7 separate regions of the Homo sapiens genome follow, and regions 2, 3, 4, 5, 6 and 7 are each linked to region 1. The links are contacts of gene promoters, found by promoter capture Hi-C in blood cells and fetal thymus (Javierre and others, 2016). All regions are on one chromosome and are shown on one strand. The core of a region is centred on a gene start or on the middle of the fragment in contact, and the rest is flanking DNA. Distances in the headings are between cores, read along the strand shown.

What was found. The method cuts DNA at HindIII sites, captures the fragments that hold promoters and counts their contacts. A CHiCAGO score of 5 or more calls a contact.
Region 2: a fragment that was not itself captured here is called in contact with the fragment with the promoter of AGL in region 1 in 1 of 17 cell types (activated CD4 T cells); the score reaches 5.6 in activated CD4 T cells.
Region 3: a contact is called between a fragment that was not itself captured here and the fragment with the promoter of AGL in region 1, in 1 of 17 cell types (neutrophils). The highest score is 6.5, in neutrophils.
Region 4: a contact is called between a fragment that was not itself captured here and the fragment with the promoter of AGL in region 1, in 1 of 17 cell types (activated CD4 T cells). The highest score is 5.1, in activated CD4 T cells.
Region 5: a fragment that was not itself captured here is called in contact with the fragment with the promoter of AGL in region 1 in 7 of 17 cell types (non-activated CD4 T cells, total B cells, activated CD4 T cells and 4 more); the score reaches 7.6 in non-activated CD4 T cells.
Region 6: a contact is called between a fragment that was not itself captured here and the fragment with the promoter of AGL in region 1, in 2 of 17 cell types (M1 macrophages and fetal thymus). The highest score is 5.6, in M1 macrophages.
Region 7: a contact is called between a fragment that was not itself captured here and the fragment with the promoter of AGL in region 1, in 2 of 17 cell types (total B cells and M1 macrophages). The highest score is 5.9, in total B cells.

The regions. Positions count from the first base shown.
Region 1 is chr1:99,848,210-99,852,629 of GRCh38, forward strand. It overlaps AGL (amylo-alpha-1,6-glucosidase and 4-alpha-glucanotransferase), which reads left to right and starts at 2,152. Exons shown (of 34, transcript NM_000642.3): 1 at 2,152-2,206; 2 at 2,766-2,915. The coding sequence starts at 2,834. RefSeq lists enhancers at 1,298-2,272, 1,473-1,622, 2,273-3,246 and a silencer at 1,803-2,122. The HindIII fragment of the contact is 4,640 bases long and covers 1-4,036 here.
Region 2 is chr1:100,847,037-100,851,456 of GRCh38, forward strand. No RefSeq gene overlaps it. Among named protein-coding and RNA genes, the nearest start is that of EXTL2, 46 kb to the right of the region's middle. The HindIII fragment of the contact is 954 bases long and covers 1,420-2,373 here.
Region 3 is chr1:100,511,335-100,515,754 of GRCh38, forward strand. The region is part of intron 15 of CDC14A (cell division cycle 14A); the gene reads left to right. Among named protein-coding and RNA genes, the nearest start is that of GPR88, 25 kb to the right of the region's middle. The HindIII fragment of the contact is 1,643 bases long and covers 913-2,555 here.
Region 4 is chr1:100,493,447-100,497,866 of GRCh38, forward strand. CDC14A (cell division cycle 14A) reads left to right here. Exons shown (of 16, transcript NM_003672.4): 12 at 1,372-1,484; 13 at 2,556-2,603. Among named protein-coding and RNA genes, the nearest start is that of GPR88, 42 kb to the right of the region's middle. The HindIII fragment of the contact is 3,003 bases long and covers 265-3,267 here.
Region 5 is chr1:100,472,792-100,477,211 of GRCh38, forward strand. All of the region lies in intron 10 of CDC14A (cell division cycle 14A), which reads left to right. Among named protein-coding and RNA genes, the nearest start is that of GPR88, 63 kb to the right of the region's middle. The HindIII fragment of the contact is 4,684 bases long and covers 1-4,420 here.
Region 6 is chr1:100,453,310-100,457,729 of GRCh38, forward strand. It overlaps CDC14A (cell division cycle 14A), which reads left to right. Exons shown (of 16, transcript NM_003672.4): 8 at 2,096-2,183. Among named protein-coding and RNA genes, the nearest start is that of GPR88, 83 kb to the right of the region's middle. The HindIII fragment of the contact is 2,637 bases long and covers 955-3,591 here.
Region 7 is chr1:100,425,815-100,430,234 of GRCh38, forward strand. The region is part of intron 5 of CDC14A (cell division cycle 14A); the gene reads left to right. Among named protein-coding and RNA genes, the nearest start is that of CDC14A, 76 kb to the left of the region's middle. The HindIII fragment of the contact is 2,601 bases long and covers 1,032-3,632 here.

The DNA of each region.
Region 1 (4,420 bases), core at 902-3,401:
GGCATGTGCCACCATGCCTGGCTAATTTTTGTATTTAAAAAAGTTTTTTTAATGTGGCTACTTGAAAATTTTAAATGACCTATGTGGCACTTAATATTTCTATTGGACAGTGCTTTCTGCTCATTCAGGCCAAAAACCTTGGAGTCATCCTTGACTCCTTTCTCCACCAATCCTGTAGGTTCTATCTTCAAAATAGTCCAGAATTCAGCAACTACACCACCTGCTATACCACCTCCCCCCCATCACCCCCAACCCCCCGACACAGAGAAAACACACACAAGTCACTTTCTCTTGCTTGAATAACTAAAATAGCTTTCTAACTGGTCTCCTTGCTTCCTTCCTTGCTACACTCTACAGTTTATTCAACTATTTCCCATAAAGTTGCGGAGCGATCCTTTTAAAAGGTCAATCAGATTATGTCACTCCTCTGTTCAAAATCTCCATGGCTTTTTTTCCAAAGTTTAAAAGCCCAAGTCCTTGCAATGGCCTACAAAGCCTTAAAAGATCTGGTCACCCGTCTGTGCTCCTGATCCCTTCTCCTGCCCCATCTGTCTGTCCTAATCTCTTACCACTCTCTTCTTCACTCAGCTATGGTGATCTTCTTCGGTTCACCAAGTATGCTCCTGCCTCATGGCCTTTGTACTTCCTATACCTCTACATGTAACCCTCTACCTTAGACTTCTTCTTTCTCGCAGTTTGGCATCACTTTACTGAACGTTATATTTAGAAATGCAAACCTCTCTCTGCTTACTCTTCCACACTTCCCCCTTCCTATTATATATAGGATATAACATATCCTTCTTATTATATAGGATATATTATATCCTGTATAATTTATTTAATTTATCTGTCTCCCACCAATAAAATGTAGGAGTTCCTTGAGGGCAGTGACTGTTTTATTGCTGCATTCCCAGCACCTTATGTGCCTGGCAAATAGTAGGGGCCAGAAAATGAGCTGTGGGTTCCCAAAGTCAGTTACGGACCATTTGCAACTAGCCATTCTCAGAAATCTACAGAAATAAACAAATACTTCAGTATGGGGTTTTTTTTTTTAACTTATATCCTCTTTGGACCTACAGTCATTCCACAATAAAGAATGCAAGAATCTTCTCCACACGCCACAAGTCTTAGTTAACCAAATCTTCTGTCCATTTTCTCATAACCATTAGGAGCCCTCCAAAAGCCCTGGAAGATGGGTTTTCCTTTACCCTCAGGCATTAAATCTCCTTAAGCATCTGCAAAAAGTTCTGAGTTACTGGCCTAACATAAGTGCAGCTTAATCTCAGACGATCTCCGGGTCTATCTAGTGTACATGAGGTACACCCGGACACCGTTAAGTATCAGTGGTGTTTGCACTCTCGATGGTTTGCAGACTGGCCACACCTTACCTACTGGGTCTGCATTCAGGAACATGTGTCCTGTCTGTTAGCACTAGAAGTGATGGACACGTGTTGGCTGGAATGTCAAGGCTGTAGCCAGGCCCCTTATTTTAGACACTTAGAAATCAGGACTCTGAGAACTTAGGCCAAGTAAAAATTATCAAAACAAAGAAACAAAACACGTGGTGGCACAAAAGACACCAGAAGCCAGGTCGTTTGCCCCTCACCATTCAGCCCTTCCCAGCAAAAGATCCTACTGTGCAGCTCAACCTAGCTCGCAGCCGGTACCGCGGGATTTTAATGTGCAACTGTGAGCTCGCAGGCTGTTAAAGGAAGGCCGCGCCTTGGCCGGTGCACCTTCCCCAGGGCAAGGAGAAAGCGCCGCTCCCGGCCTCAGCCGCAGCAGGCTCCAGGTCCCCCGGCCCGGAGCCGACTGAGACGGTGCGGTGCCCACGCTCTCGCGAGACTAGCGGTCGGGGCGGGCGGGTCGAGCCTCCCGGAAGTGGGCCAGAGGTACGGTCCGCTCCCACCTGGGGCGAGTGCGCGCACGGCCAGGTTGGGTACCGGGTGCGCCCAGGAACCCGCGCGAGGCGAAGTCGCTGAGACTCTGCCTGCTTCTCACCCAGCTGCCTCGGCGCTGCCCCGGTCGCTCGCCGCCCCTCCCTTTGCCCTTCACGGCGCCCGGCCCTCCTTGGGCTGCGGCTTCTGTGCGAGGCTGGGCAGCCAGCCCTTCCCCTTCTGTTTCTCCCCGTCCCCTCCCCCCGACCGTAGCACCAGAGTCGCGGGTCCTGCAGTGCCCCAGAAGCCGCACGTATAACTCCCTCGGCGTAAGTGCTAGGAATGCCGCTGGCCTCGCGGGGAAACGCATTCTTTCTATCTATAGCTCGCTCTGTACATCTTCTGTCTACGGCAGCTATTCCAGAGGCAACAACTGCTTCCCTCTGTTCTCATCTCCCCATTGGTGGCTGGCGACCCGAATTTGGGAATGGGGAGATTGCCCACCTGTTATCTTTGAGCAGACTAATCTCTTGTAAGCAGAAGTGCCATTCGGAGTCTCCAGAGCCCTGTGGCTTGGGGCTGGGAATGTCCCCCTGACTTCAGGCTTTCCTAAGTGTATTGCTTTTCTCTGAGAATGGTCTAGGTTTTTAATTTTTTAATTGTAAGAATCTGTAATACAGCATTTTTATTTCGGTCTTATTCGTTGTGCTCAAAGGCAGGAAACAACTATTAATTTGCCTTCTCGAATCTTAATAGTTATAAGATTCATTCTCTTTCATTGCTCTGCTAGGCATAAAACACACTTCGAACATGTAAGTGCCGCTGTCAGCTCTGGAGAGTTTAAGGCAATAGTTATTTTCGATATTTTAACTCCTTTTTGTTTCATAGGGGTAACTCATTCGACTGTGGAGTTCTTTTAATTCTTATGAAAGATTTCAAATCCTCTAGAAGCCAAAATGGGACACAGTAAACAGATTCGAATTTTACTTCTGAACGAAATGGAGAAACTGGAAAAGACCCTCTTCAGACTTGAACAAGGTCAGTAGCAAGTTGTTTTGATTTGCTCATTTGCGTCTTTTAAACTTTTAATTCATTGGCAGTCCTGTTAAATGTTTTAAAGCTCTAAGATAAATATTATTTCCAAGGGTCTAAAACTTGATTTGTGCAAAGATGGTGCTGTGTTCTCCATATATCACTAATTAATGTTGATTTGAATTAAAAATATTTTATATCCCTCGTGTTAGGATAAGGATAAAATAGTTCTCTTTTCTCTGCGTACTAATTCCCACTTAAGATTGAAGTTAAATATATGATCAGAAGATTGCCCATATTATTTCTAATAACATTTACTATTAAAACTTGGTAAATTACTTCATATGTAATTTTGCTTTGGGTATGCATGTAGTTTTGCCTTTGTATAACTGTCTCTTTTCCTTTGTTGAACCTTTGAATTGACAAAATAGATTGCAGCAAAAAGTATAGTAAACTATTGTTTATGTATATCAAAAACTTCTCAAATGTGGAGTAGGTAAAAGCTGAAAATATTTTCTTAGCAAATAAAAAGTGCAATAACTCATCTGGTTATGTTGAACTATATATAGTTGATCTGTATTTAAAAGATCAAATTACTTTTCTACAAGGCTAGTTAATAGATGTTTTATTTTCTTAGCCTTTGTAATTTTTCAACATTGAAGAAGTGTAATATATGAAAAATCCAGTCCCCCTTATTAATGTACCAAATGGATGTTGCTAGTCATAAACATTTCAAAGGAATTTTTAAATTTCGCTAATGTTTTAAGAATTAAATTTTTGAAAAAAATTTCACACATACAATGTGATATCTTCATGCCAAATCCGCGCCTTTTTCCAACTTTGGCATTTAAAATCACTGAGTACCTACTCCATTTTTGGCTTTCCTGACTCTGCACTTTTCTGGTTTTGATTTTTTTTTCCCCCTCCCCTGTTGCATATTCTTGTCAACTTGGTGTCTCTTACTAGGCTCTCTTCCTTTCACTTTTTAATTAATTATGGGTATCTGCTAGGAATTCTTTTTCTGTTCTCCTTCAAAGAATTAGTTACACAGTCTCATGGCCTCAACTGTTGCCTCTGTGCTAATGACTACTTTTGGAGGAAAAGCCTTGAGCTTTCTTCTTCTTGGAAGCTTTCAGCATTTGATGACGGGTAGATCTAGAGCCAGAATTCTCCTGGCTCTGCTGCTAACAAGCTGACTTGGGGCAAGTTACATTAATTCTGAGCATTCATTTCTTTTTTTTTTTTTTTTTTTTTCCTTTTCTCTTTTTCTGAGACAGGGTCTTACTCTGTTGCCCAAGCTGAGTGTTGTGGCATGATCATGGCTCAGTGCTGCCTCAACTTCCTGGGCTCAAGCAGTTCTCCTGCCTCAGCCTCCCAAGTAGCTGGGACTGCAGGCATACATCACTATGCCCCGCTAATTTTTTTTTTTTTTTTTTTTGTAGAAACTGGGTCTCACTATGTTGCCCAGGTTGATATTGAACTCCTGGACTCAAGCAACCCTCCCTCTTTGG
Region 2 (4,420 bases), core at 647-3,146, 1.0 Mb after region 1:
TCTCAGGGATTCATAGATCTGACCAAACATTAGAGTTCTTTGTTGTCTTGTAATATGTATGCTGTTTTGCTGTATATCACTATCAGCATATTTTATACATTTTTAATGTAATTTACAATGCACAATTCCTTAAGTCAAATGTCCTGCACTGAGAACTCCTTCAGGGATTAGTTTTTTTTTTTTTTTCAAATGTGCATTTCTTAGGTTTACTATTTCCTTAGTATATATATTTAGAGTGTGTGTGTATATATATATATATATATATATATGTATATTTTTCTTCCTATTGCTGTTATGGAATCTTTGCTGGAGGTCCTGTGTGATAAAACCTCCAATATGTGGAATGTTATTAACATTTGCTAAAGACCTTTGGATGCAATGCAGAGTTTCTTTTCATGAGAGAATTGTGCAGTGGAAGAGAGAAGACTGCTTTGTGATTATAGCAGTTCTTTAACTGAATTAAGACAGGCAATCATTGGTGTTTCTACTGTGTTGCCAGGGACTTCTATTTATTATCAAGGCATTCTTTTATATTCTGCTTTGTAAAACTGGAAATTCCCTGAGAAATCACCAGGAAAGCTGAATGCCATATAAAGAAAAGAAAACCGAAACCAAGGAGGACAATATGTGGGAAAAAAAGAAGCTAAGACGTTAGAACTGTGCTATTTCCTAAAGATTAACATGTGTTTGAAAGATATAACAATGTTAGTTTTTGGACATAAACATACATATTGTTTGTACTAAGTGTTGCTTTTTCCTAGTCTGTAATCAATGAACAAGCATCTCTTGAATATGTAGTATTTACTTAGCACAGTTTGAGACACTGTGGGATATTCTAAAGAATAATCTGTAGAGCCCTTGCCTTTCAATAGCCTACAATAGAGTAGGAGGAATACAATGGCACATTTAAGCCATAAGACAAGGCAAGATGATACTTAATTACCATAAGTACTAAATTATGAGGTACAGACTATTAGTACTGTAAAATGTACTGGGTTCCCAGAATACTCTCCTTCCTATCTGAGTGGTAGTTACATGGGTATTCTTTTCACAACCTGTTTTAAAACTGTGCACATGTTTTATTTACCTGTTTTAAAATCATAATTCACAATAAAAATGTTAAGTGATAGAAAGAGAAGGAGAAGAATAAGGCCTGGAATAACTGGAATAAAAACTTGTGGGGAAAATATAACTTAAGAATTGGCACAGAAGAGAGAGCAGATCAATACAAATGCAAATGTAGCACAGCTGTGGATGAGTTGGGGTGCAGATGGGTTGCAAGGAAAGAGGGTACCAACTGGAGTGGGCTTGGAGTTTGGGGTGGGTTGTATGGGGTGGTGCAGTAGCTAACATGAGCCTGGACAATTTGAGAGTTAAGGGTTTTGGGGTTGAAGGAGGACCTTGAGATGGAAGTAGAGAAGCTTAGACTGATGTACCAGGTCATCCATATGTTTGGGATTTTAAATTAGGTGAAAGATTGATGACAATGGAATTCAAGAAAAAAATAATGTAGCTGTGCTATGTCTTCTTCACGAAAACAGGATAGGAGCAGGAGTGAGAAAGGGAAGCAGCAAATGAATCATGTAGCAATGAGAGCCTCCTCATCATTACTGGAGAGGAAGAAGTAAATGTAAGAAACACTACAGGTGAGAAATGCTCACGACTATGTAGCTGAGAGGATGTGGGGATGAGCAGGATAAATGAACCACGTATTTTTTGCTCTTGGGAGAATAATAGTGCCAGTGATAGAGTAGTTGGTAGAAACAGTTGGTTAAGAGGAGGAGGTAATTCTGGTCTTTCAAATGTAGAATTTGGAGTGATAATGACAGTAGGGAGTAGCTATATGGGCATAGAACAAGGGCACATAGAGAAATTTTGATGAGCATTTTCAAATGTAAAATACCACAACCAGAAATGAATCCCCATATTGTGTTATATGACAGATATCATAAAGCACCTAAACGATGCTGCTCTCACATCAAAGGCTAAAAATCAAGGTAATTCTCCCTCCTTGAATGTGGTAGCCAAACCCACATATTCCTCTCCCTTTCCATTTCTGACAGTTCCATAAATACCTAAATTCAAAGCAAAGCCTATTTATTTTATCAGGGAGAAAGCAGATGTTCCAGCTGTTGGTGATTTCTGTGCAAGATGAGCCATCCTTACTACATTTTAAATCTTTTTGAACTTGTGTCTTTTTAGCAAACTTGGAGAATTATACTATAGAAATGGAAATCTATAAAACTCCAAAGGGCAGACAGAATTAAGGAGGCAGATTTTGATTCAATAAAGAAAGAACTTTCTAAAAATGTGAATGATCCATAAATGGAAAAAACCTAAGTATATTCCCTCTTCTGGAAATATTTTAGCAAAAGCTTGACTCTGTAGAGATTCTATATATAGGATTCTTACTTTGAGTCAGTGATTGGACTAAAAGACTTCCATGACACTTTATATATTTATTTTCTCCCTCTCATGTATTGAGGCTCAGTGAGGAAAATTTTGAATAATACCAATAAATTTGCTCATTTATTCATCCAAGCAGGTTTGTTTTTCCTATGAGCCAGGAACTGGGCTAGGCATTGGGGATGAAACAGTGAAAGAGACTCTGATCCTTGTCCTCAGTAATCTTGTAGTCTAATAAGGGATACAGTGACCAAAGTGTTAAATGCTAACATCGAAGTAAATACCTGGAACTCAAAGTGAGCATAGCTCACTCTTAAAGAGTCAAAGAAGACCTATCTGAAACATCAACTATTGCACCAAACTGGACTGTTGAAGACAGAAGAGGCTTAAGTCCTTTCTATCAGTCTACTTGCCCAATATTCACTATCTACACACAAAAATTCTATGAGCAAAGCCCATTTTCAGAAAACACAGCCTTATAGAAGGACTTTCAATATGACAGAATGAACTACAGTTTCAGAAATGTAGTTTGGCTTTCTAGAAAACATAAATCCATTTGAGTCTAAAATATTTTAAAACCTAAATAAAATCCTTATCCCCATGAGATGATATGGACAAGTATTAATTGCTTTCTCCTATATTACCTTGACCCTGAACCTCCCCTATCCAGGCAACTAAACTGAATTGTTCCAATGGCCCAAGCAGAGATGTGAGGAAGAAGGGAAGGAGAGGGAATTACAGCACAATCAGAAAATAAATATAACACATTCTTGGCTTTTCAGTTTAAAATGCCCACCTATGTGATAGAAAGATTAAATCAAATACTTGCTGGAGCATTTTCCTCTCTCAGAAGAAAATAACTTAAACCTTTATCTGGACTAAGAGAAGAAAAGGGATATAGTGGAGATGGGAAACAAGATTGTTAAGACATTGACAAAACTCTCTTAGAAAAGATCACCAGACCCTACTTCCCCATACCTCTCCCTCAGTAATTAGCCCCTCGGGGAGATGAGAGCAATAGAATCCTTAGATGAAGTCAAGGTTCTGAGGGTAAATTGAAACTCTATGCTGTATCTCCGATCAGTGCTTTGCAAATTTCAATGTGCATAAAAATTACCTGAGGATTTTATTAAAATACACTTTTAATTGAGTAGTTCTGAAATGTGGCCCAGGAGTCTGCACATTCCCAGTTGATCCTAATGCAGATAATCCATGGTCCACTCTTTGAATAGTAAGATCATGGGGAATTTTTGAAGACAACCTTGTCTCCAGAAATTCCGTCTACCGTCATGGAACAGGCTTAGTAGCAGATGTGGTTGTGTATGTGGGTGTGGGCACCTAAAGCCCAAGGTCACCTTACTGAGCTTCCTAAGAGCCAATAGTGGTGTATGAGAGGAATTAATTTTCTTGCTTTTCAAAAGGGGTGCAGAAACTAGCCAGAGAATTGGCAAGGGGCTCATGGTCATAATGAGGGGACTCCCTGATGAGGGGGAAGCAGTAGGGACCACACCACTATGGTGCAGGTGGGAACAGGGACACCTCTGCAGATGCCATCAGGAAGGTTTGTGCAAGTCTCCATGGGCTAGAACATCTTCATGGGAGCCAATATGAAGGACAGATGCAAGCATGAGCCAGTTATCCTTCCATCACCCCCATCAGAAACCACCATGCCAAAAGCTCCTGGAAATTAAATTTCACATCAGAGAGGAGAGAAGACCCTAACAACTGAGTTTACCCAGAACTGATCTAATTATTTTATCTGCTACTGGGGAAAAAAAAGATCTTAAAATCAAAACCAAGTTGTTACATAAAAATAAAATTATGTTCTTAAATGCTCATACTTATGACCCAAGAACTTCATACTCACTATAGAATATACATAAGAAATTTGATGGTTAATGCTCCCAAATAGTAATTTACATGAAAATTAAAACTACCAGTAAATTACAGGTTTATTTTGAGAGGAGAAAGTGATGTTTTATAGAGTCTCGTATTCCATGTAGGCCCTAGGACA
Region 3 (4,420 bases), core at 484-2,983, 660 kb after region 1:
TCCGCTCTACAGCTGGGAGGTGGCCCCTCATTCTGGTGAAAGTCTCTCCCGCAGATTACTGCCGACTTCTTCAAGGCCAGATCTGATGGGCTCCTGTTAGTCCTTCTACTCCTAAGCCTGCCCCTTAATGATTGTCCTTACATTGGCTCTTTCTCTTTGGGTAACCTCCTGAGCATTGGACCTACACTCCCAGCTTCCTCTGGGTGTTACCTGGGATAGAGAGAATACAGGTTCCTTCCATTGCCAGCTCCTCTTTGGTTTCCTAGCCGAATAATCTCATCTTTATTCATCCAGTCATCCAAGCTAGACATTTGGAGTCAGCTTTGACACTACTTCTGCCTGCCTTTCCCTTGTCACACCAGTCACTAAGTCCTATCAAGTCTCCCTCTAAAATGCCTCTGTCCTTCCATTCTTACCACTGCTGCCTTAATTGGGGTCTTCATGAACTATCGCATAGCCCTTTCTGTCTTCCTGTCTCTTACCTTTAATCTTTCCTCTATACTGTTGCCAGTGTTAAATTTCTGAGACACAGAGCTAATCAAATCCTTCTCATGTTTGGCTTTGTTCAGTGGCTGCACTCTGCCTACTGGGTCAAGTCTGGCTCCCCTGGCTTGGCATTCAGGGTTCTTCCCTGTCGGGCTGTGTGCCTCCCTGCCAGCCTCCTCTCCAGCAGCTCTACCTGGCACGACCTGCCTTAAGCCTGAACCCTAGCACTTGCAGTCCACTCTGCTTTCCCTTGTTTCTCTGCTTGATTTTGTATTTCTTGACCTGGCTCGATAGTTATCTTTTTGATAAGCATTTGTGACCCATCTAAACAGAATGGCTCTTCCTTTCTCGACTCTCCTAGGAGCGCTGACACTCTCATATTATAGTCAGTTATACATGATTCTCTCTCTCCTCTGCTTTCCTTTAAGCTTCTCAGAAACATCTCTTGTTTCCTGAGGTTCCACAGTACAGTATAAGTGCCTAATAAATACTTATTGAACTAAAAGTCAGATAATGTATCTGGGTTCGTGAATGTTAAAGTGTTTAGGAGCCTGGGTCTCATTGTTAGCATATGAAGCACTAACAGAAAACAAACAAGTTTCCAGCTTTAGCTTTAATATACGGTAATCTGGGAGTTGTGTATTTTTTTTCTAGAAATGTGGCTTTACTAAAATAAGAGAAAATAAATTTTAACTGAGTTTGCATCAATATAATTTTGGTGTTCAGATGAACTGAAAACACTCATGTAATGGTTGGCTGAGTCAAGCTGGGTGTCAACAATCTGTCATCTAACAATTGAGCTCTTTGTGATTGTTGAAAAGCATATATTAAATTTCTCCAGAAAAAAGAATCTATTAAAAATCATGTAGGAAGGTGAAAGACTATTTTATATAGCATTATAATGAGCCCAAATTGGCTTTTTAAGTCTTGAAGTCCCTGAAATGCACAGAGAACACTATGGAAAAATGCACACACACCTTTCGAACCTGATTTTAACACAAACCTTCATCCTTTTATCTTAATATGATGCCAATAAAACCATACCCAGCTACATTTCATCTAGTGTTATTGGAGGAAATATGTATCATATTAACAGAGGCAAATTCTTTCAGTATTGTACATGTTGGGTACAATATACACTACTTGGGTGACAGGTGCACTAAAGTCACAGACTTCACCACTATACAATTCATCCATGTAGCCAAAAACCACTTGTACCTCAAAACCTATTGAAATAAAAAATAAAAAATACTTTCAGTATTGTGAAACCACAGTTATGGAAATAAGTATCAATGCACACATTTTATGTGTTAATTTGTGAGCAATACAAAAACTGGAAACTCTATTACAAAGGCTTAAAGAGACATAGGAGTACAGAGGCAGTTATGGGTGTATTTATTTTTCCCCAGTGTTGTATTTGTTCATTAAAACTTAAAACACTATAGTTATGTATATAAAATACCATGTTGCCAAGCATGTATTTTTTCCTTTAATTTCAATCACATTAAAACAAACCATTTTTATTTTAGGTTCTTTTTGCCTCTGTGGTTAGAACTTAAACCAGGGATAACTAGTACACTATTGTTTATTCCTTAAAGGACTGGGGAAAATGTAGGAAAGAAAATGTCAGTGTGGCAAAAAAGTCCATGAACATTTTGAATCAGGATTTTGACCTTAGTAGGATGCTAACATTCCAGGCCATTGGATCCTTTGGTTCAAGTTATTTGAACATTAAGACATCGTTACATTCATTTGCTGTCAAGGACCTTAATCTTTCATTATTCTTTATAATTTGCTGTTTTTGATAGCTAACATGTTTTATTTATTAACCATCTGTACAATATTTATATCTGTAATTATTAGACATGTTCCTGCCATGATTAGGTAACTGGGCTGTTTAAAAAAGAAACACCTCCAGAATAGCTAAAATTTTAAAGTTACTACCTACATCTGCCAAAACAGATTAGTAGCAGATTTCCAGAACAGAACAAATTGTCTTGATCTCCTTACCTAACACTTTGTTTTATGTCAAATCTTACTGCTTTCAGGGAACAAGACTTCTTGATGGAAGCTTATATTTTGACATAAAAATTTTGGGGGCTGCAAATGTAAGGCAATTTTATCCTTATTTTTCAGGTTGAATATTGCTACATTATTAATTTTATGGTATTCATACAATAAGAATACCACATATTCATAATAAACTTGATCTGGTCCTAACTCACTATAACTCTGTTGAGCTTACTAATTAAATGAGCTTGAATATTATATTTGAGAAATTAAAATCTCTTGGTTATATAAACAAGGGCTAACTTCTAAAATAATATTTGTACTTCAGGTATAAAAATTATTTTCACTTTCTTTATAACCATCTTCACTGTCATTGTTATAATTTATTTTGTATTTCAGATTCATTAATTCATTATTGTAACAACTAAAAACATTGGCCAATCAGAATTAAAACTTTAATCAACTCATAATACTTAAGCATGGATGTTCTTATAATGAAAATTTCTTTTAAATTTAGAATATTCCTGAAAATTCTTTGAATTCAGGCCTGATGAAAATCATTCAAAAATGTATTTATCTTTTAATGCAACAAATATTTTTTAATAATTTTTTTTATTCACTCAGAATCATATCTTGCCTAAGGTCATTATTTGTCTATGTTAGGGTGATAGAGAATGTTGGATTGAATATGTAGTGATCACAAGGCAAATGCTCGCTGTCTTGAGACATTAAACTATGGTAGCTAAGGGTTTGAGCTTTAGAGTCAGACTGCTAGGGTTCAAATTCCAGCTCCACCAATTCTTAATTACATGAATTGGGGCTAATTACTGCTTTGTGCCTCAGTTTCCTCATCTGTAAAGTGGGTTGTCTGAAACATTTAATGCGTGAATATGTATAAGATGTTTAGAACTGTCCTTAGCATATAGGAAGTACTCAAATATCTAGTTCAGAATAATTGATGTGTCAAGTAATATATCTAATTTGTTAAGAAGTTCAGCTAGTTGTATTTAATCTATTTTTGAATACGAAAATCAATAGCAATAATATTGTTCATGGAATTCAAAATGCAAATGCAATTTTACTATAAAATGTAATTTTACTATAAAAATTAAAAATGCCAGTAACTGGCTATAGTCTTTTCTGGGATATTAGTAATTTTACAATACATGGACATTTGGAAAACATTGTATATAGTTGGTAGTCCTACCTGTGACTACAAAAAAAGCATGAAGTTATGCTTTGTTACGATGTGTATTAGGTCCCACCAGGCACTCATCTGGCTTATCTATCTAACCTGTCTAAGATTTGAAATGGAGAGTACTTGTGTTTTTCCTTGAGGTTTCCTCAACTGTGGCTGAGTACAAATGACCCAGAGAGACCGTCAGCACAACCCCGTAGGATAACCATGTGATACCTGAAGTTTAAATATTCCTGTCATCCAACACTGTTGCTCCCTGAATAGAAAGGTCTCACAGTGTTAGTTATGCTTTTGTTAAGTGAATAGATCTTGGAGACTTGAACAATTCTCTTCTCCCCTTAGTGCATTTCTTTCTTTCTTTTTTTTTTTTTTTGAGACGGAGTTTTGCTGTGTCACCCAGGCTGGAGTGCAATGGAGTGATCTGAGCTCGCTGCAGTTTCCGCCTCCCGGGTTCAAGTGATTCTCCTGCCTCAACCTCCCGAGTAGCTGGGATTACAGGAATGTGCCACCATGCCCTGCTAATCTTTTGTAGTTTTAGTGGTGATGGAGTTTCGCCATGTTGGCCAGGCTGGCCTTGAACTCCTAACCTCAGATGATCCACCCGCCTCGGCCTCCCAAAGTGCTGGGATTACAGGTGTGAGCCACTGTGGCCCCCTTAGTGCATCTGTATTAAGATTTTTATTTTAGATTGAAAATGAAAGGAAGTTAATTTGTTACAAAATACTG
Region 4 (4,420 bases), core at 516-3,015, 640 kb after region 1:
CAGACCTTCCTGATTTCTGTTCTTGCAGGCTTCCTTTGATGGTAATAAGTTCCTCCCCCATTGGGGTTGTATGGATAGAACTGAATGGTAAAACTGATTTCTGGAGATTTTTTAGAAGTGCAACTTGAGACTCTAAGAGAATCCTCTGTCATGAAGACTCCATGATCCTGTGACTGTTGAGCTGGTATTCTTGCACAGGACGACCTTTCCTGGGATCTTGGGCTGCGTCACTTGCACCCATTCTTTAAGGGATTGCCTCTAGGAAGCTTTTGTCCTTATTCTTTCTTTCCCACTGGCCTTGTGCTTTGCATTTCTTTATTTCTTTTTTAAACTCAGAGATGTGATGGTGAGGTTTGATCTTTTTACTGTGGAACCCAACATAGGTGGCCGGGATTGAGGAGGTATTGCGATGAGAAATGACTCAAATGTGACTTGATGGAAGTACATTTTTCATCAAACAAGAGTTCTAGTTTTAAATAGGGGAGGGGACTATTACGGCTGGGAGGGATTTTAGCAAATCCAAGCACTTTGATTTTTCAGTTGAGGAAAAAAGGCAAAATACAGTCTTCACTGGTGCAATGACAGTGTGCTATGGCATATATTTTAGAAAGAACATTGCATCTTGGGACAATAAATCTAATTTTGAAGTCACACAAAGGTCATTAAGAGCTTATGGGAGCTTGGGCAATATTCCTAACTTCCATGAGTATGTCCTTTTTTCATCGATAATAAGGGTACCAGTGCCTCCCCCTGCATCAGGGCTATTGAAGAGACTAGCATTTGAAGAGACTAGCATGGTACTTCTATTTTTCAAACTTTAAAGAGTTATTTCAGAAGGAAAGATCTAGTGAACATGGTCCTTTAAATCCTTCTGAAAAGGGCTTGTGTGCTTTTACTAGTGTTACATGATTACTGTGTTAATAACTTACTGTATAGATATCCTAAAGTATTTTTATCTTGTATTTTTGTAAACAGGTTATGGAATTTGCAGTGATGGGTCCTGGTAGTATCTAAAAACATATTTGTACTGCATCTGTGGGCCCTTCTGTATCTAGGCTATATTCCAACGTATGATTGTGTCTGCAGGAGAGTCTCCTCTGTTGCTGTCCAGTGTAACAAACAGCTCCTTGTATATTCTACCACATCTATTCCCATGCTTCATTGATTTGGAATTTGACTTGTTGCCTGTTGAACTGGCAAATAGTTGAGTGTTCTTTTGTGTAAACTTTGACAATGCTGATTCACAGTACCTTTAGTGACTTAATCTATATTAAGATAATCTGTATAAAATGTATCTATATATGTAGTCTGTTAAGAAACCTATATAAAGCCAAATTTTGACCTTTCTATGGAACGTGTATTTTTTTCCAGGATAACTTAGAAGATGATGATGTGGAAATGAAAAATGGTATAACCCAGGGAGACAAACTACGTGCCTTAAAAAGTCAGAGACAGCCACGTACCTCACCATCCTGTGCATTTAGGTAGATCTGTTTTAAACACTTCAATTTATAGTGTGCTTCCCTTTGTGAATAGAACATTTCATCTTCTCTTTAATCTGTAATCTTCTGTTTTGAATTTTGTTCTACAAATACTAAGTTTACTATTTTGTGTTGTTTATTGATTATTTTATCACTGTTGGGAGTAGCTAAAGTTTAGAAGTTTATTGAAAGCAACTGCTGCCATCTCAGTCTCTGGAATTCTACCTTAAGCTGCAAAGCAGTTATCTCTGGGACTCTGTTTCAAATTCTGTTTGGATTTCTCCCCTTCTGCTGTGAATGAGTTTCTTGTCCTGTGTTGGATCCTCACAGGTGTGCTGAGGCTGTTGTATTGACTCATAGTGTATATAAAAGTATTGTATGCCAGTCTCTGGCAATCTAAGCTAGTTCCTCAGCTTTACCTTCTATTTTTGAAAATTGAATAAGCAATTCTTACCTGTGCCTGTAAAGTTATAAGCCATCTTGACTTTGAAGTCTCAAACTACTCACCAGAATCAATGATGGGACTTGACTTCTGATCACATTTGAAACCTGCTGATAGCTCAGATTGGGTTTAAAAAAAGGGGAATCAAAAGGTGCAAACGTTTGTAAATATCATCATTTTTTAAAATTACAATATACTGGGTGGCAAGGCCCCAGTCCACAAATTAATATAATGGTAAGCAGCAACATTTTTTTGACTTATAAATAAGAGATACACATAGCAGAAGGATGTTTTGCCGGTATGGTAAACACCAAACAGATTCACAGGGAATTTAGTTTTCATGTGTAATCTGGGAGAAACTATAACACTGTAGTCAGATTGGGTCTTTACTGAGTTCCTGATCTAAGGAATAAAGGTTCATATTGCTCAAAGATGAGGTTATCATTTTCTGCAGTATTATGAGAAAAGGGGATAGCAAGCCTGGTTCTGGGTAATCTAATATCCATTTGCAAGGTTTCTCCCTTTTGCTAATTTAATATTTTTACTGGTTTGATACCATTTGATGTGCCTTGTGGTCTTTGTGAAAACGTGTGCCCTGGTGATATGTGAGCATCTGTCTTTGATTTCCGCAGGTCAGATGATACAAAAGGACATCCAAGAGCAGTGTCCCAGCCTTTCAGGTACTGCCAATGAGGTTGAATGTCTAGTAGCTTGTAAATATATGCTTCCTTTTAGCCATGTTTCCCAAGCCTCAAACACGAAAATCAACTGTACACAGCTTTTTGCTTTTTAAATTGCTTCCTTTCTCTTCCATATTGTTTATGCCTTATTTTTAATGCTCACCATGAAAAGGATTTTTTTTTTTTTTTGCTGGCATGCCCACAGGACTGTGTGGTGGTGGTAGAGACATCAATGTATTTTGTGCTCTTAGCACATTGTGGAGGGGGGTCTCTAAGAAACTACAGGTGCTCTGCATTTCTCCTTTTGATCTAGTGATAGATCTAGCTTAAATTGTTTTCATTTTTATTGGTCCTCTTTCTATTTTTTCCCAATCAGCATGCATTTGTTCCCCTCCTTTATTTTCTAGTCTTATTTTCTTCTCTACCTTCCTTTTCAAGAGGAAACACTAGTTTTGTTCTGTGGAAAAATGTCCCCTGAAACCTCCGGGAGTGGTACCACGATCTGGTGTGGCACTCAGTGAGAGCAGCAGAGATGTTTGGCCAAGAGTGTTGATGAAATAGGGGAAAGAAGCTCTTCACCTGCTGGTTCTTATTCATTCTTAGGTTTAGGACTGTTTAGTGAGGGCAGTTCAAAGAGGGCTTAAGCATCTGGAGCTTCTGGAGAAGCTTGAATTGCTTCTTTGTAGAACTTTTTCCATTTTTATTTTGGAGGCAAAACATGAGCTTAAGCTGCTGTTTGGTGGGTGGATAATGAAGGAAAGAGTCTACAAGTAAATAAGCTTTTCTCTAGCAGAGAGGAAAACAGAGTTCAGCTATATTAAATGATTTATCTAGGATCAAACAGATTTGGTATTAAGATTATGACTGGGCCCTGGCTCTCCAGATTTGAGTCAGTTTTTCCTTTTTGTCCACTTGGCAAATATTTATTGAGCACCTGCTCAGAATCCAGCATTGTGCTAGCCACTGGGAATTGAAATGAGAGAGAAGTCTTTGCCCTCAAGGAGCTTACATCAGGTAACGGAGATAGACAAATATCAGATGACGCAATATGGTATAAGAGCTATGATTTACTATGAGAATATATGATGAAACATATATTGCTTGGGAACTCAGAGAAGGCTTGCTTGATGAGGTAACAGCTGATTGGACCATTAAAGGCTAAGTGTGATAGAAGTGGGTCAAATGGACATGGAAGATAAGAGGTAGAGGATGGGAAGGAGATGAGAAAATGCCATGGCAGGGAAATAGTCTGTGCAAACTGGACAAACGTGTGGACGCTACCCATTCAGGGAACTCAAGGCATTCTTATGTAGCTGGAATAGAGATGTCCAATGGGAAAGTGTGGAAAGAAGGACCTGTCCAGATTTTGGAGGGGCTGCATATGCCAAGCCAAAGAGTTTCTATAGGCTTGTGGGCACAGAGGAAAGATGAAATGATTTAAACAGTGAAGTGACATGATTCACTGAAGGCTATTCACAATTTGAATTGTTTAGGAATAAGATTAAAAGATGCCACTTGTAGTCAAGGATAAGAAATAAAGATGGCCTCGCCTAGGGTAGTTTGCAGGGTGAAAAGAAGAGGATGGATTTGACATATAAGAAGTGGAATCTAAGGTTGTGCTGAGGAATGAATACCAGTGGCAAAGAAGGGCAGTGGCCCAGGAAGACAGGATCATGGCTAAGAGCAGGACTTTGACTCCTGGGTTTGAATCCCAGGTCTGCTGTTCACTAACTGAGTGACTGGATGAGGAACTTTTCCTCTGTGTTTTTGTTTCCTCACTTGTAAAGTAAGGACAGCAATATTAGCTACTTCTTAGG
Region 5 (4,420 bases), core at 1,064-3,563, 620 kb after region 1:
CAGTTGCTTCAGTACCATTTTCGTTGAAAATTCAGTTTCTCCACTGAATTTTTTCTATAGCAGCATCAAAAATCATTTGGATATATTTGTGTTGATCTATTTCTTTGTTCTCTATTCTGTTCCATTGACCTATGTGTCTCCTTCCTTCAATGCCACACTCTCTTGATTACTGGACCTATATAGTGAGCCTTAATATTGGAAGAGTGATTCCTTCCACTTTCTCCTTGTTTAACAAAATATTCTTAGCAATTCCACTTTCTTTTCCTTTTCATATACATTTTAGAGTAAGCCTGTCTAAATCTACAGATAATGTTTCTGGGATTTTAATAGGAAGTATGTTAATCCTCTATATCGATTTGGGGAGAATTGACATCTTTACTATTGTTGAGTCTTCTAATCCATAAACATGATATGTCTTTTCATTTATTTAGATCTTCTTTGATTTCTTTCATCAGCATTGTGTAGTTTTCTGGATGCAAGTCCTTTTTTGTTAAATTTACACCTAAGTACTTATTTTTTTTTAGCAATTATAAATGGTATTTATGTCCATATGTTCATTGCTGGTATGTAGAAATACAATTGATTTATCTTTTTCTTTCTTTCTTTTTTTTTGAGACGGTGTTTCACTCTTTTTGCCCAAGCTGGAGTCCAATGGCACGATCTTGGCTTACTGCAGCCTCTGCCTCCTGGGTTCAAGTGATTCTCCTGCCTCAGCCTCCCAAGTAGCTGGGATTACAGGCGTGTGCCACCACGCCCGGCTAATTTTTTGTATTTTTAGTAGAGATGGGGTTTTACCATGTTGGCCAGGCTGGTCTTGAACTCCTGACCTCAGGTTATCCTCCCACCTCGGCCTCCCAAAGTGCTGGGATTACAGGTGTGAGCCACCCTGCCTGGCCACAATTGATTTTTCTGTTTATTTTGTATCCCGAAACCTAGGAGTTTTATATGGGAGTGTGTGTGTGTGTATGTATGTGCAAATTCTTGGGGATTGCTTTTTCATCCACAAATAGGACAATTTTATTTTCTTTCTAATCTATATACCTTGTGTTTCCTTTTCTTCCCTTGTTGGACAGGCTAAAACTTCCAGCGCTGTGATGAGTAAGAGTGATAAGAGCAGACATCCTTGTCGTGCTCCCAGTCTTGGAAGGAAAGCATCCAGGCATTCACCTGGATTAAGTATGTTAATTGAGGTTTTCTATAGATGTTCTTTATCAGGTCGAGGCGGTTCCCCTCTATTTCTGTGTTTCTGAGGGTTCTTATCATGAATGAGTGTTGAATCTTGTCAAATACTTTTTTGGCATTGATTGATATGATCACATGATTTTCTTCTTAAGATTGTTAATATGGTAGATTGCATCGATTGTTTTTTGTATATTGAAGAAGGCTTATGTCCCTGGAATAAACACCATTTGGTCATGGTGTGTAATTCTTTTTATATATTGCTGAACTCTGTTAGTTAAAAATTTTTATGTCCATATTCATAAGTAACATTGGTTTGTAGTTTTCTTTTTTTTGTCTGTTTTGTCTGGGTTTTGTGTCAGGATAATACTAGTTTCATGAAATGAATTGGGAATTGTTCTTCTCTGTTTCCTGGAAGAGATTGTGAGAGCTGGTGTGAATTCTTAAAATGCTTGGTAGAATTCTCCAGTGAAATTATCTGGGCCTGGGGATTTCTTTTTAAAATTATGAATTCAATTTCCTTAATAGATATAAGGCTATTTGAATAATCCATTTCATATTGGGTGAATTATGGTAGTTTGTTTTTTGAGGAATTAGTCCGTTTCATCTAAATTGTCAAAATTATGTTTGTGGAGTGTGTTTTTTTTTTTTAAAGTATTCCTTTATGTTTGCAGAGCCTGTAGTGATTTTCTTGGCTTCATTTCTGATGTTAGTAATTTGTGTATTTTTTTTTCCCTTTGTCAGTCTCCCTAGAAGTTGGACAATTTTATTGATATTTTCAAAGAATCAGCTCTTTGTTTCATTAATTTTCTCCTTATATTTTTGTTTTTAATTTCATTGGTTCATGTTTTTATATTTATTATTTCCTTCTGCTTCCTTGTAGTTTTCAGTATTTTGGCAATGTGTCTAGGTGTGGATTTCATTGGAATTATCCTTTTTTGAGGTTTACTCAGCTTCTTGAATGTTTAGGTTTATGTCTTGTCAAATTTGGAAGGTTTTCAGCTATTATTTACTTAAGTGCTTTCTCAACCCTGTCCTCTTTTTCCTTTCCTTCTGGAACTCTGTTGACATGAGTGTTAGGTTTTTGTTATAGTCCCACAGCTCTCTGGGACTCTCTTCATCATTTTATTTTTAGTTTATTTTCTCTTAGTTATTCAGATTGGGTAGTTTCTACTATTCTATCTTCCCCTTTACAAATTCTCTCATCTCTCCATTCTGCCATTTAACCCACTCACTGAATTTTACATTTTGGTTATATGCTATTCTAAACTTTCTGTTTGGTTTTCTTTATATCTATTTCTTTGCTGAAACTTCCTATTTTGTCAGTTGTTTCATGTGTCTTTGTAATTGTTTGTTGGGGCATTTTTATCATGGCTACTTTTAAATCTTTGTCAAATTATTCTAACATCTCTGTCATCTTGGTGTTGGCATTTAGCGATCATCTCTTTTCATTCAGTCAATGTCAATGTGAGAAAATGTTAACCTGGACATTTTCCTAGTATGTTGAGACTCTGGATCTTACTAAAACATTCTGTTGTATCTGGCTTCTTACACTGCTTCAGCAGAGGAAGGTGGTGGCAGCTGGGTTGGGGGGCAGGGGGTTGCCACATTGCTACTACCAGGTGGAGGCAGGAATCTGGATTCTGTACTCAGCCTCTGTTGATGTCCAAGGCTGAGGGGCTTCTTGTTGCTGGTGGGTGGAGGTGGGAGTTCTAGTTTTCCATCGGGTCTGCACTGACACTGTGATAGGGGTCACCTTGTTACTGAAGGGTGTTGGTGAAAGTCTTCACTCTCCACTAGGCCTCCTGTGACACCACTCCAGCTGACAGAGGAGGGTTGCTGGTCACTGCCTGGTTGAGGTGGACTTCCAGGTTCCACCATTACTACCTTAGTGAGGAGTGGGGCCGAAATTGGGGGATCTCATTATCTGACTCCCAACTTAGCCTTCTTTGACACTTCTGTGGCGAGGGATTGACAAAGGGTAAAGGGGTGCCTACCTATAGCCTGGCAGCGTGGAAATCCAGGATCCCCTCTCAGTCTTTGCTGGCTGGCAGGGTTAGGGCCACAGTTTATTTCCTGTGGGGTTTGGCTGGAGAAGAGCAGTTGTTGAAATGTTTTGTTGTCTACTAGGATACCCTTTTCCTGTTCCTTTGACTAGACAGAGCAGGCTTTTCTTCGGGCTTTAAAAATATCAGCTCTGGGCTGGGCACGGTGGCTCATGCCTATAATCCCAGCATTTTAGGAGGCCGAGGCGGGCAGATCGCATGAGGTCAAGAGTTTGAGACCAGCCTGATCAATGTGGTGAAACCCCGTCTCTACTAAAAATACAAAAATCAGCTGGGCATGGTGGCATGTGCCTGTAATCCCAGCTACTTCGGAGGCTGAAGCAATCAATTGAACCTTGGAGGCAGAGGTTGCAGTGAGCCGAGATTGTGCCATTGCACTCCAGCCTGGGCGACACAGCAGGACTCTGTTGAAAAAAAAATCAGCTCTATTGGCATTTTTGAATCATATCTTCTTCAGCCCTAAGACTAGGCTATATAAGGCAAAAGGAAAACTCGAGGAACTCACCACCATTTCGTTACTTAGGTCTCAAGGTTCCAACCAATCTGCCTTTTTCTTTTCTATTTTTCAGAGTCTTGTTTTTTTTTTTAAATATATATAGGATTTTAAATTTTACTTATGGGAAGAATAGGGAAAAGTACATCTACTTTATTTTCCAGAAATGGTGTTATTGCCTTATATTTTAAGGTAATTAGTCTGCCTATAATTTTCGGCATGAAATCTGCTGTGGCAGTCTGAATAATGTCTCCCCAAATACAGGCATATTTTAATCCCTGTGAACCAGCTGTGAATGTTACTGTATATGGAAAAAGGGACTTTGCAGAAGTGATTAAGTTAAGGAAGTTGATGTGGGGAGATTATCCCGGATTGTTTGGGTGGGCCCAATTAATCACAGTGTCCTTAGAAGAGGGACCCAGGGGGAGCCATTTAGAGGAGAAGCCGATGTGATGACTGAAACAGATTGGACTGATGCATTTTAAAGATGGAGTAAGGAGCCATAAGCCAAGGAATATGGGCAGCCACTGTAAATTGAAAAAGGCAAGGAAACAAATTATCTCCTCAAAGCCTCCATATGGAACCAGCTCTGCCTACTGTCACTGCTTTAGCTCAGTGAAACTGATTTCAGACTTCCAACTCCAGATCTGTAAGAAAGTAAACTGGTGTTCTTTTAAACCAC
Region 6 (4,420 bases), core at 1,023-3,522, 610 kb after region 1:
TTATCTAACCTACTTGGTGGTCAAGGATACAGAAATAGTGACCGTAGAAACCTGTTTTCTTTTATTGTTCATAAAGAATTGGTTTTAGTCTCTTGATGATTAGTGCATACCTTTATTCTTGGATTTTCAAATACTGTGTTAAGCTTAATAATTACTTGAGAGATATTGGATAATTAATTTGAGACTTTTATTTAAACAAGCAAATTTTAATTGCCATAATTAGATTCTTTATTTAAGTTGTTATAAATAGAAGCTATGCTTGAGGTTTAATTTCACATGTGCAATCATAACACTCAGGGTTTCTTAGATTTTACTTAGGGCATTTTGGATATTTTTTTTATTTCCTTTGAGACAGAGTCTCACTCTGTGGCCCAAGCTGGAGTGCAATGGTGCAAACTCGGCTCACTGCAACCTTCATCGCTGGGGCTCAAGCAGTTCTCCTGCCTCAGCCTCCCAAGTAGCTGGGACTACAGGCACACACCACCACACCTGGTTAATTTTTTTGTATTTTTAGTAGAGACGGGGTTTCACCATGTTGCCCTGGGTGGTCTTGCACTCCTGAGCTCAGGTGATTCACCTGCATTGGCCTCCCAAAGTGCTGGGATTACAGGCGCGAGCCGCCACGCCCAGCTGGAGATATTATGTTTATTACAACTAGATTAAATGCAGTTCAGATGTTTATAAGATGGTATGCACAGTTTCACATATAACTTTTTATAACTGGGAAAAAAATCTGCATTAAAAAATGACAATTATATTTTATAGCCAAGTTTTGATTTTCATGGAAATGATAATGGGTAATATAAGTAATTAAAGTAATGGCTCCAGTTTTTTTTTGATGGCCATATTCCAATTTGTTTAACAAATATTTATTGTGTTCTTATGGTAGAGTACAGAGTCTATATTGGGTCAGTTTTCTACTGTTGAGGTCCTTGCCATATAATGGGGGGAGAAAGCTTTTTATATGGATGGTAACGGATGGCCCAGTGAAGAGAACAACATTGCTTCCCTGCCCTGAGGATGGAGACAAGGAGGGCAAGGGTAGGGGTAGGTGGGGAGGGGGTGGTGGTGGTAAAGACAGCGTAAGTGAAGAGGTGATATATATATTTTGTGATGCATTGCACAAATGCCTTCTAATGACTGCAAAATTTGGGGTAACCTTACTCGTGCCCCAGTGTCCCATGGTTCGGAGGCACATGGGGAAGGGAAGAAAATGGGGGAGATGATGGAGCCATGGGAATGTGCTTGGCTACTTTCTTGGTCTTCTTAAGCCTTTTCTGAGGATCTCTTAGCGTGTTTAGACTAGAGGCTGATAACTGGTGCTCAAAGTCAGCCAATGGGCATGTTTTATTTGGTTTCACAGGAGTTAAAAACCTAATTTAAAAAGTCAACATTTTAAAAAGAGAGTTTTCACATGAAAATTCAGTTGGAAGATCAGCTGTGTTCAGTTGGCTTTCCTACAAGGTGTCTCATTAGCTGGAGTGGAGGAGCACCTGACTCTATGTATGTCCCTTGCTTGAATCTTGTTATCCTCCAGAGTACAGCTTGGCTGACTCTGGTTTGTGGAATGGATGCGCCAATATCACTCGCTCCTGCCTTTTGCCATTTCCCCCTCTAAAAATCAGCATTGACAAGAGATAACAGCCCTATAAAAAGAGAAAAAAAATTGGAAGTGTATTCATCAGGAGCTTGATATTTACAGATGTTTTTTCATTGTTTAAAATATGTTTACTACATTCATGGAAAGTTTTCATATTTCCCATTTTCTCTTATTTATCGCCAAGACAAGCAATGTTTGTTTCCATTTCATTTCTTTGCAGTGGCCAGGAAACAAACATTTTATGCAAAATACCTCTGCCGTAAATAAAAGTTTCTAAACATTTCATACAGTCTAGACACAAGTTTTTCTAAAGCGGATTGAATTCCTAAATAGCATTTTGAGAATCAGGTGCATGTTTTTATTTTAAGCTATGTTTGTCTACATGTATGTCTAATTAGTACTAAGAGTGAAAAGCAGTTTTATTTGTAAGGGTTTCCTAAATTGTATAAGAATTATAAAATATTTTTCTTCTCTTTTCTTACAAAATTCTGCCAGCGAGTTGAAAATGGTGACTTCAACTGGATTGTTCCAGGAAAATTTTTAGCATTTAGTGGACCACATCCTAAAAGCAAAATTGAGAATGGTAGGTTTTTTTTTCCTTTACCATCCAAACATTTATTTTGATTTATCTTTCTAAGTTTCTTAACTTCCTCAGATAATTATTTTCTTTGGTAATATTCTCCAAAGAATATTTATTCATAATTTAAAAAATTGAACAGTAGTAATAGTGTGTTAAATATTGTATTTCCAGTAGGTGGAGCTATAATCACTGTTTTAGAACTTAACAAATTTTTAGCTTGCCATAAATAGGATGTTCACTTTACCTGACCCCCAATTATTAGAGAAGAATCTGAGAAACAAACTGGTCAAACTCATAAGCAGATTGCTGTATTCTTTCAGTGGTTCTCAGATTTATTTGTTGGTAGAGTGCTACACATCAAGATGTTCTTTGGGTAACACCATGTTGAATAATGATGATGAAGACAATCTGTCATTTACTGAATACTTAGGTGCTAGTTACACAGATCACAGCATTTATCTCTTTTAACACTCAACACAACTCTATGAGATACAGATATTGTTATCTGCATTTTAGGGAGGAGTAAATTGAGCCTTATTAGTAGAGAATTTGCCCAAGGTCACAAAGTAATAGGCAGAACTGGTACTCCAAACCAGAGGAGGGCTCCTAAACATTGCCACTACACTGATACACTTAGTTCCATTGTGACAACTAGGTACAATTTTCTAGCTGACAGTGGTTAAACTACTTATTTGCAGCATAATTTATTGCCATGGGCATACATATTTAGGAAAAAAATAAAAACAAAACTAAAAATAAACCTTTTGAATGAAACATGATCAGCTATGCAAGTTTTCCCATTAAGACTTATTTTGTACTTACTAATTTTTTCTATCTACTAATATTCCCTAGAAAACAAGTAATGATAGACAACAGAGGTTCAAGAATAATTTACAAGAGAAGTACATAAAATTGAAAAAATATCCATGAACAAAATATCCCCCCCCCTTTTTTTTTCTATCTGATCATAGAGGTGGAATACCAGTGTTCTGAGGGAACCTAACTTGAAACCTCTGGTCTAGATTTATTCTTCAGCTGGGCATGGTGGCATGTGCCTGCAATCCCAGCACTTTGGAAGGCTGAGGTGGGAGGATTGCTTAAGGCCAGAAGTTCAAGACCAGCCTCGGCAACATAGCAAAACCCTGTCTCTTAAAAAAAAAAAAAGATTTATTTTTCTTTAATCATCATATTCTAGAATCTAGTTTCATTGTATATTGTTATTCATGCATTTAGGTTTTATAATTTGAGCTTTCATAAATATGCTTATCATTTCATACCTGTGACATATTTAATAGGGAACTCTGCTTGAATCATGATTTTACCATGCGAATGGGCAATCCAGGTCTAGAGAGTTAAGCTCACAAACAGGATACCTCTATGGTGAAGTCAGAATTTGATCTTCTTACTTATAAGCTTGCTAAATAATCTTTTTTGGTCTGGACATTCAATAATTAACCTCTGTCATTTTGGGTTGTTAGGAATTACATGTTGAGAGCCTGAGGAAACTGCTTTCTGACAATTGGCCTTTCAAGATAAGACTGATTAAACCTGCTTTCTGTGCAAATTATCTGACTCAGGCCCAGGAAATGTTAGTAGGGATATTGTTTCAGTAGTAGTTTTGTTGTTGGGTATTTGGCAAAGTCGAAAGACTTTCACCATTTGTGATTCATGTGTTTGACTACGTTTTCTTAATGAGAAATTGAGAGATATAATTGTAAAAGCCATTTAAAAGTTTTTATGTATATAGACATTGTATATTCTATGGATACATGCATTTTGAAAAAAATTTTTTTTTAACAAAAGTGGCATCATAACATAGTTAATATCTTACAGCCAGGTTTCTTCACTTAACATATCACGACTTCTTTTTATAGCAGTAAATGAAGATCCATGTAATCATTTTCCACGACTGCATTGCATTTTGTTCTACCATATGACTGTGCCATATTGTGTTAATTTATTTTTGGTTTTTGCTTTTGTTTATTTAGAGACAGGCTCTTGCTTTGTTGCCCAAGCTGGAGTGCAATGGTGTGATCATAGCTCATTGCAACCTTGAACTCCTGTCCTCAAATGATCTTCCTGCCTCAGCCTCCCAAGTAGCTGGGACTACAAGGCACAGCCCACCACACCTGGCTGGTTTTTTTTTTTTTTTTTAATTTTTAGTAGAGATGAGGTCTCTATGTTGCCCGGGCTGGTCTTGAACTGCTGGGCTCATGTGATCCTCCTGCCTCCCAAAGCAC
Region 7 (4,420 bases), core at 1,082-3,581, 580 kb after region 1:
TCAGAAAGGGGTAATAATGCTGATAATTCTAAGTTCTAAGCAAAGTGGTTAGGAGTATATACTTTGGAGGCAGAGAAACTTCAAGCAGTTTGAAGCCTCATTCTGCTTCTTGCTGTCTGTAGTAAATAAGTATCTCGGACAAATTACTTATCCTCTCTCAGCCACAGTTTCCTTATCTGTAAAATGGCTTCAGGTCTAAACTAAGGATCAAATGAAGTAATAAATTTATCCTTCTGCCTAGTGCAATGTTTGGTTTTTGTTTTTCTTGTTGTTAGCATTATACTATTATTACTGTTAGTAACATAATTAATAGTAGTAGTAATTATTATTACAGGGTCTTACTCTGTCGCCCAGGCTGGAGTGCAGTGGCACACTGCAACCTCTGCCTCCTGGGTTCAAGAGAATCTCCTGCTTCAGCCCCCTGAATAGCTGGAATTGGAGGCCCCCACCACCATGCCTGGCTAATTTTTGTATTTTTAGTAGAGATGGACTTTTGCCATGTCTGCCAAGCTGCTCTTGAACCCCTGGCTTCAAGTGATCCACTTGCATCAGCCTCCCAAAGTGCTGGGATAAAGGTGTGAGCCACTGCACCCAGTCAAGAACTAGAATTTTAAAATAATAATACCAGAATAGAAGAAAAGATAGTAAGATAATTAATACTACTTAACATAGAATTGATTTCAATTCTACATAAATACTAAATTTATAGCCTATTTTTCAAATATTTTTCACTCAAATACTTTTATGTAAATATTTGAAAATATAAATACATTAACATAGTTCAGAAATTTAAAAAATCTATATAGGAAGGTTTAAGTGAAAATTATCCCTCCCATCCTTGATCCTCATCTGTCTAGTCCTTTCCAGGTAACTTCTGGTATTAGTTGATTTGATATCAGTCTAGAATTTCTTTATGCACGTATAAGTAAATGAAGATATGCACCCATTTCCTACTAAAAGTATGCCTTTGAATGTAACTCTAAGTTCTATCTTTTTGATATCTTAGGATACCAAGAGTTGTATTTACATTAAGCTTCATTTCTAAATCTAGAATCTTCATAAACCATACATTTGAAACAGAAAATACCACAAAGTAGTACATTTATAATTTAGTGAAGAATTTAGTTGAAAGAATACTACTAGTTTTCTGGAAACTTAATTTTTTTATTATGCTAAGATAAGATGTGAGTTGTTTTTAGTCTACAGTTCAGGCCAACTAAGACTAATGGACTTCTATCAAGAATCATCCTCATACTAAATTCTGGGCAGCCATCATTGCGTTGGCCTTCATTATAATCTGGGTTTTATTATCACCAGGTTTAAAAAAAAATCCCATTTCTTATGAAATTACACTTTTGTCTTCATTGTCTAGATTTTTTCAACTGCTGATATATTAACACTTTTAATTAAAAATGAGAAGCCTTAAAGGAATTTCTATTTGGATGTAATTGTTTTATTATTTAAAATTTTTTAAAAATGAAGATGATTTTGAAGGCTTGTTGAAGGTGTGGTTGGTATGTTCATATACACTTTTCACTGAAATGTCTGTGTTCCCATTTGTGCTATATATTTTAGTTTCTTTCTAATAAAAGAGTTTTATGGCTACTGTGAATTTAAATAATGCTGTTTTTCAAATTTTTTTCACTTTGCAAACATTTATCTGAGCAGTCACTTCTGTAAAGCCTTCCTCATTTTTCTGGAGAGGCTTGGCAGGTCCTTTGCCTGTGATTCCCTATTACATTTTATGTATTACAAGGCTACATACAACGTTAAAGCAAACACCTTGTATTATAATTATTTGTTTGCATGGCTGACTCTTCTCTTGAGGGCTGTGGTTGGTTCTTTTCCTATTGTGTCCTGAGGGAGCAAGTATACTAAAATATATTTATTGCTTTTTCAGTGCCAGTCACTGTGATAGTCCTATGGATCAAAAGATGTTTAGGACAACTTGGTACCTGCTGCAGGAGAGCTCAGTGTATAGTCTGTATACATGTATAGGTGTGTAAAACAGTTACAGTGCTTTGTTAGAATTAGGAGAGAGGTGTTATGGGAATACTGAGGAAGGAGGTTTAACTCTGAAATGGGGGGGTAGGAGAAGATGTTAGGAATAGGCCCCATGGAATGCCTTTCATGTTAGGATGAAAACTGGAGAACAGCAATTCAGGCACTGATTTTAGGTGCTAATTTTATTTATTCGTATGGCATAGGTTGTATAATGGTATGTTAGGTAGTATATATAATACGAAGTTCACAGTATGGGTACATTATTATAACCAAAAGAATGATCTGATTTTATTCCTACTTAGATTCTATTCACCTAGTTAAAATTAACAAAAAACGAGAATTGTGTAGCTTTAACTGCCTATTCTTGATTAAATTAAGTATAGTTGACTTTAGAGATAGTTGAATTTCTGGCTTGTGTGACAGCAGTGAGTGTTGTGATGTCACTTGTGAGTCAGTCTCAGGATGTTCTGTTGAATTGGAGGGTAGGTGTGTCAAAAACTGTATTCACTTTTACTGAGAATAGCCAATGTGTTGATTAAGAGTGACTTTAGGTGAAAATCAGGGGAAAGGGGTGTTTTTCATCTACCTTAATTCTTTGAGTCATCCATTTTCAGTGTTGGCTTGGCAGTTAGCCTTCAAGGGAACAAGAGGCCTTTCAGTTCTGGGGTCAGACTCAGCAGAGTTTGAATTGACAATCTAGGTATGAATCTTTTTAGGTTCTCTTCCTTTCAGTGTACTACTAAATTATAGTGTATACTATTGAGCAAACAAAGTCGTATTAATCTCAGCTTGTCTAAAACCCCAGGAGACCAGTGACCCTTAGTGGAATGTCCAGATTGTTTTCATGGCAGTCAGTGGCAGTGGTTTTCAAATCTACATTGTTGGTGCTCACAAAACAGTATTTGTGAAAATTTAAAGTCCCGCAAAACATTGAAAAGATAACCAATCTAAATTGTACAATTCTTATTTAAGATGTCTCTTGTGCTTTTAAATTCATTTTATACTTATTTCTTTGTTTATTGGTCCATATGTATCAGGTTGGTACGTTTTTTAGTATTGGTGATAATTCCTAAATCTCCTAAAAGCCAGTTTTTAAAATGACATATAGGCCGGGCGCGGTGGCTCACGCCTGTAATCCCAGTACTTTGGGAGGTGGGCGATCACTTGAGGTCAGGAGTTCGAGACCAGCCTGGCCAACAAAGTGAAACCCTGTCTCTACTAAAAATACAAAAAAAAGTAGCCAGCCATGGTGGCATGTGCCTGTAGTCCCAGCTACTCGGGAGGCTGAGGCAGGAGAATTGATTGAACCTGGGAGGCAGAGGTTGTGGTGAGCCAAGATCGCGCCACTGCACTCCAGCCTGGGCAACAGAACAAGACTCCATCTCAAAAAATAAATAAATAAATAAATAAATAAATATAAAATAAAATGACATATACAATTAAACAGGGAATAAAATTATGCTGACAATAAATAACATCCAGGGATCTAGTTCTGAAGACATATCCAGAGAGCATGGCATGAAAAATAATGACTAAGTCTGGAGGTAAGGTTAGGTAGGGTAATGTGCTGACAGTAATGGAATAAAGCTGTGAACATTCGATGTCTTATCCCTTTAGTTTTTTCCTAAAGCTTGGAGAAGAGGCTAGAATTTACAGGTGTTTCTCAAAGTTATGTTGATCCTCAAACTTATCTGCATACGTGGGGAGCTTTAAAAAACTACTGATCCCTAGATTCTGTGCCCAGAAATTTTGCTGTAATTGGTCAAGGGTGAAGTCAGAGTTATTGGGATTTTGAAAAACTGCATATATGATGCCAATATGTGTGGTCAAGGTTGAGAACTCCTGCTCTGTAAGATGTACCATGGCAAAATATATATATATATATCAAGTATATTTATATATATATTATATATATATCAAGTATATTTATATATATATTATATATATATCAAGTGTGTATATATATATATCAAGTAAATTTAAAACTCTCCATCTTGGAGATTTACAAAGCAAATTTCTGTTTTAAAGATTCTGAATGGTTCTGAGTAATGAAGTAACCTGTTTAGCTCTGTATAACCCAGAATTTTCTTTCTTCTTTTTGTTTTTTTGAGATGGAGGTTTCACTTTGTTGCCCAGGGTGGGCTTGAACTCTTGGGCTCAAATCCTGTGTAGTTGGGATCACAGGCATGCACCACTGCATCTGGCCCAGAATTTTACAAAGTACTGATTTTCTTCCTCCTGCCCCATACTTTCCATTAATATCCAGCAGAACTCCTGTTCTGAAACACTCTGAGGCATATTTCCTGATCCACACCTGTGTGGAACAAAAAACATCTCTTGGGATTAAAATAATATGCTAGCATTTTGTGGAACATTTTTTTTATGCTGTTTCCTGAGAGTCTTGGAAATAGATGGC